Linked DNA regions of Homo sapiens: region 2 is linked to region 1. Evidence: promoter capture Hi-C in 16 types of primary human blood cells and fetal thymus (Javierre and others, 2016). All regions are on one chromosome and are shown on one strand. Each heading gives the region's core, a stretch centred on a gene start or on the middle of the fragment in contact. The rest is flanking DNA. Distances are from core to core; before and after follow the strand shown. Region 1 holds the start of ENOX1 (ecto-NOX disulfide-thiol exchanger 1). Region 2 overlaps TNFSF11 (TNF superfamily member 11).

Region 1 (2,687 bases), core at 78-2,577:
ATGCATCCTTTGTTAAGGGTGCACAATGGATAAGTATTATTTTCTTTCTTTGCATTGGGGTTCTGACCGCCAGGGGGAAAAATAGCCACACACAAGGAAATGGCATAAGTTAAAATCAGGCAAGCCTAGTGGGGTGGTAATGACTTTCCCAGCATCCAAGTCTTTGCCTTCAGGTTACGTGAAGCTAGAAAACAATGTCATTCATTCAACATTTACAGGGAACTCACAAAGTACAGAGTACTATGCTAAGCACTGGAAGGCATGCAAAAGTGTGCAAAACACAATCCCTGCATTGAGGATTCCTGCCAGAAAGGGTATTTCAAGTATTACCCAGACCTTACGACCCTTGAAGAAATGCTTGTGTGAATAAAATCCCACTCAGAATTTAAAATAAGCAAGGAAAAGTATACTACTAAGACAATATATCTGTTAAGAGGCAGAGAATGTAAATGTGCTTTAAACATTTATTTCTGAAGTATTACAATGTAGTTGGGATGGAGGATCGGGGGATGTGGGTGTGTGTGGGGAGGTGGTGGGAGCGGTTCTTGGACGAGCCTGACTCTAAGGAGGCACTGCTTAGATGCCTGCACAGCTAAGTTGAATCCTAACAAAGAGGAGGCCGGCATTCTTACCTGGGAAGTGGGTAACTTTGAGAAAAAGTAGCCTCCAAGGAGGAAAAAAAGGCAACATGTCACCTGGGGTTAGGATCCCCTCACCCTTACCAACCTGAATGCTGACCGCACCCCGGCCGAGCCACTCTGGGCCGCACACCCCGCATCATCTGCCCAGGCCACGCGGCCCAATTCCACCGTCTACCCCAAGCCCACAATCCTGTAACACGCCCGCTCCAGCCTGGAGTCGGCCACGTGCGCCCGGGTTCTTCTCTTGGCCCTTCAGCGGGCCCGGCCCCTCCAAGGTCGCCGTAGCAACCGTGCGGTCCCTCTCTCGGTTCCCCCGCTCCCAGTAGAGCAGTCCCGACCGCGGCGGCGGTGGCGGGAGCGAGCGGCCTCGGCCCCTCCCGAGAGGGGGCAGCGCGACCGTGGGCTGCGGGCGCCGCCTCTGCTGCATCGGTGGCTGCGCGCTCCGCTCGGCTCTGCCGGGCTGGGATCCGGAGCCCTAGCGCGCCTCGCTGACTTCCCCTCCTCCTCTGCTGCCGCCCCGTGGGCAGCTTCTCCAAGCGAGACACGCGTTCGATCCTCCTTCCCCGCGTTTACGGATTTCCGGGGTCGTAGAATTTTGCCTCGGTCCCTACGAGCATCTCTCGGCCTCTCTCCCCCTCCCCTCGCGACTCCCCCACCCCGTGGGCGCGCGCGCACCCATACACTCACACTCGCAGGCGCGCGTGCGCACGCCCGCGCGCCTCCAGCCGCGGAGTCTCCAGCGCCCCTCAGCAGATCCCCGCTCTCCCGGGCGCCGCTACTCACACAGGCTTCCAGCCGCCACGGGGCGTCCTCTGTCTGCTGCAGCGGCGGCGGCAGCAGAGGGAACGGCGACTGCAGCCCGGCCGCGTCTCCCAGCTCCGTGCCCGGGACAGAGTCCGGGAGAAGCAAAGGAGGAGGAGGACGCCGAGGCTAGGAGGAGCCGCGCCGCGCCCGGCGCCCCACTCCGCGCAGCGGGTTGCCTCCGCTCCCCATACGGCGGCCCCAGGTAAGCAGCTCCGGGGCCCGCAGCCTCCCTGGGGCGTCCGGGCTCCGAGCCGGGGTCCTCTGGTCTCACCCCCGCCACGGCACCTGGATCTAGACTGAGAGGGGAGTGGGCGAGGGGGGAGGGGAGTGGAGCTAGAGGTGAGGCTGGTGAGGAGGGGTGCGTGGACGCGTGGGGGCTTCGGTGCAGCCCCCACGCCCTTCCCCGCCGTGCCCCGTCTCAAGCTCCCTCACTTTTACGCGCCCGGGGGTGCCCAGCGCCCCAGACAGCTGTTCCCCGCTCTCCCCTCCGCCCGCCAGCCAGTGTCAGCTCCGGGCTCCGCGCCCGCCGCGCGCCAGTCACCTCCCCTGCACCTTGGACAGCGCACCCCGCACCCGTCTCCCCCTGCGGGCGTCGCCCCCGGGACCCGTTCCTGCCCACACAGTGTTCCCGCTGCCCTCTTCTTTCAGGTTTTCACCCTCCCGCTCTGCATCCCTTTTCCTCCAGCCTTGGCGGACTCCGCTCTGCTGCGGGCCGGAAACTTTCCTCCCCGCCTAGTCTGCGCTGGGTACTGTTGTTATTCGTGACTGTCCCCTCTCGCGGGGAGCTCGGACACCTTGGACAGGTCTTCGTCGGCGGGAGCGCGCCCTGCCTGGCCCAACGCGAGGTAAAGGAGGCACTGGGGCAGCCGGACTCGGCCGCTGCCAGGGTGCAGAGCCCGCGCCTCGGCCGCTGGACGCCGGCCGCCTCCCCGCCTCTCCGGACCCGACACGTGCGAGCCTCCCACGGACGCGGCCCCTCCCAGACCACCCCACGTCCTCCCCCTGCACGGCCACAGCCACCCCATAGGTTGGACACCCGGGGCTCGCGGGTCCTGATTGGCTGAAGGCGTAACCCCGCCCTCTTTCGGAAGGGGGGTGGTTCTGGAGTGTTGTGGTTGTCATCCCGCGGCGAGCACATGGGGAAAGTGGGGTCGACAGGTGGGCAAGCCCAGCTCTGTGGAATCTCTGCGTCTCACTGTATAGCCACTGAGCCACGCTTCTTCACCCAGATACACTCCTGCT
Region 2 (2,687 bases), core at 99-2,598, 1.2 Mb after region 1:
ACTGGGAGCCTGGGATATGATCTGGGAGCCTCAAAACTAGGCTGTAGGAACCAAACAGGCAGTTCTTTCAACCACTTGGGAGAAAAACTGCAGCAAGGGCCATCCAACGGTGGGGCAACCCATCATGAGAAGACCAAGAATTCAATGGTTCCAATCCCTCTGTCCAGAAACAGGATATTTCCTGAACTCCACAACCTATCTGCAGCGGGGTCATCACAGGCCCTCTTGCCTCCTGGGCTCACCACAATAAACACCCTTCTTTTTCATCGGAGGTCTTATTTCAGGTCATCCCAGATTAAAGCACCCCAGATATAAATACCATCATCTGGCCCCAAGTGAGTGAGCATGATCATCACACCTTCATGAACACTAGTAAAAGCAATTCCTCTAATCCATTGACAAAATCCATGAAATTCAAGATGTTTCCCATCTCAAGTTATCCCATGCTGCCTTCATTCTTATCCCACTCTTGCAGTCAATTTGTTGTTCAATCAATGATTTTTCTTATAGTTATCTCTTAACAGAAGAGAAGTCTACCCTCTCAATGGGATGGATCAGCTGGCGTTAGAGCAAGATATGGCCTAGGAAGGCAAGGAAAGAATATGAAATAGAGAGGCAGGAGAAGAGAGGAACCTTGACCGATTACCATTCCCATTGTTAGGTAAGTCATGTGGAAGAAGTGCCCTTATTTCCTACTAAACATCTCTCTATTTTTGTGCATTGACTTACTCATACATTCACTGGTTCATGCTTTTGATCAGTCACACAATATCTACGTGGTGTTTTTAGGAACAGGCAGTCTGCCCGTAATTAAGAATTACATCAACCAACTGTGCCTTAATGGCACTCACCACTAATAGTAGAGAAAATAGAAAATGAGCATATAAAATATGCATTTTCACTTCTGCATGTTGCATAGCACATGGTTGACATTCAGTTACAAGCAACTGCCAAGAGACAGCTACAGAAATTCATGGCAAGCAGGAGAGCTCAGCTCAGGAAGGGGCAGAGAAGCCAGAGGACAGTGGGGCCTTGGGTCAGACTTGGATGGGCTGAGAAAAGGGAGGGTATTGTCAGTGAAGGAAACTGAGCAAAGAATGGAATATGCATGGCACGTATGGGGGAAAAGGAGGAGAGCCAGTCAGTGTGAAGAGAGGACTCAGAAGCAGATAATACCAGGTAAAAACATGAGAAAAATATGCAGTGATCACACAGCAGGCCTCACATGGAAACCTGGATTTTCATCACTGAGGCACACTGACAACCCCTGACTCCAGCCTGCCAGCTTTCCCAGCCTCCCCTGCCCTACACTTCAGTCCCTGCTGCTAAGTACCGCAGAAGAGGTCTCTGCAAATATTTAGCCTGAGTATCCTCCTAAAGAAAGCCATGTATTCTGACCTCACTAAATACTTCCCAACGCATTTCATCTAAGATATTTTGAAAATGCAAGTGGTATCAGTCCATATAAGGCAGATTCTGATTTTACTTGTGTAAGTAAGTATAAAACAGAGCCCCAAAATGAACATGCAAATTTAAAGCCACTTCCTCTGAAACCTCCAGTACTGGCCAAAACTGGGTAATAAATGGACTCAAGGAGTTGTGGGCCCAGCCAGAGCCACAAATTCTATTTTCTTAAACAGAAGTATACACTAACTCATCTCACTCAGTCACAAACTCAATAACTGTCAGAAAATAACCAGGAGTTTTGCCTTGTGTTTTTGGCAATGATTTGATGCTAGGTGCCTGCAGAGAGAGTTTTATAACTAAAACATGCTTGCTATTGCCAAACAGACTTTGGCAAACGGTCTAATGCAATATTTATCATATGCCATTTAAAGTGAACTGAAAAGATAAATGTAGGGAACATTAATAGCACACACAGCTGATGCATTAGTATTAATTTGACTGCCTTTGCTAACATGCAAAATAGTTTTCCACTCAGAGAAATTAATACAGATGCATCCATATTTATTTGATTGCCTTTGCTAACATGCAAAACAGTTTTCCACTCAGAGAAAATTAGTGTAGCTCCACCACAAGACATGCATAGACACACAGTGAGACAAATTATTTATGAAGCAAGTGTCTGGGACAGGAGAGGTCATTTGGAAAATCCTCTAAAAGCCAAAGAATTGGTTTCTCCCTTTCTGTGTCTTCGGTCAGGAAAAATTCCCCCTTGTCCATGCCGTAACAAAGTTTTCCAAATAACTTAGCAAAACTTGAACTTTCTTTCTTTAACTCCGAGAAAAACTTGCCTTAAATTATTTGTAGGAAAAAGGTGGAATATGTATAATTATTTAATTGAACTCAAAAATAACAAATCACACTCCCAAGTGCTTACTATGGCCGTTCTTCCACACAAGAATGTTAGCAGTCTACCTCATTTCATCTTCATAGCTACCCCTTGAGGCAGATGCTATCAACATCCCCATTTTAGACATGATGAAGCTGAAGCATATGTGATTGCAATAAATTGTACAAGGTCACAGAGCCAGGACAATGGAGCCTCAAACCCAGGCAGTCAGATTTTAGCACCCCTGTTATTAGACGTCACATGAATCTACTTCTCACAGGAAAAGAGAAACATAAGGGCTTTGAATTCTTTCCCTCTGGCCAAGCCAACTGACCACAAGTACCTTGTGGCCTGCTTATGTGATAATAGAGAGCATGGAAAGCACGGACTTAGC

The links. The method cuts DNA at HindIII sites, captures the fragments that hold promoters and counts their contacts. A CHiCAGO score of 5 or more calls a contact.
Region 2: a contact is called between a fragment that was not itself captured here and the fragment with the promoter of ENOX1 in region 1, in 2 of 17 cell types (naive B cells and total B cells). The highest score is 6.6, in naive B cells.

Annotation. Positions count from the first base shown.
Region 1 is chr13:43,785,612-43,788,298 of GRCh38, reverse strand. ENOX1 (ecto-NOX disulfide-thiol exchanger 1) reads left to right here and starts at 1,327. Exons shown (of 17, transcript NM_001347969.2): 1 at 1,327-1,647. The HindIII fragment of the contact is 7,995 bases long and covers 1-2,687 here.
Region 2 is chr13:42,601,967-42,604,653 of GRCh38, reverse strand. All of the region lies in intron 4 of TNFSF11 (TNF superfamily member 11), which reads right to left. Among named protein-coding and RNA genes, the nearest start is that of TNFSF11, 29 kb to the right of the region's middle. The HindIII fragment of the contact is 4,763 bases long and covers 1-2,687 here.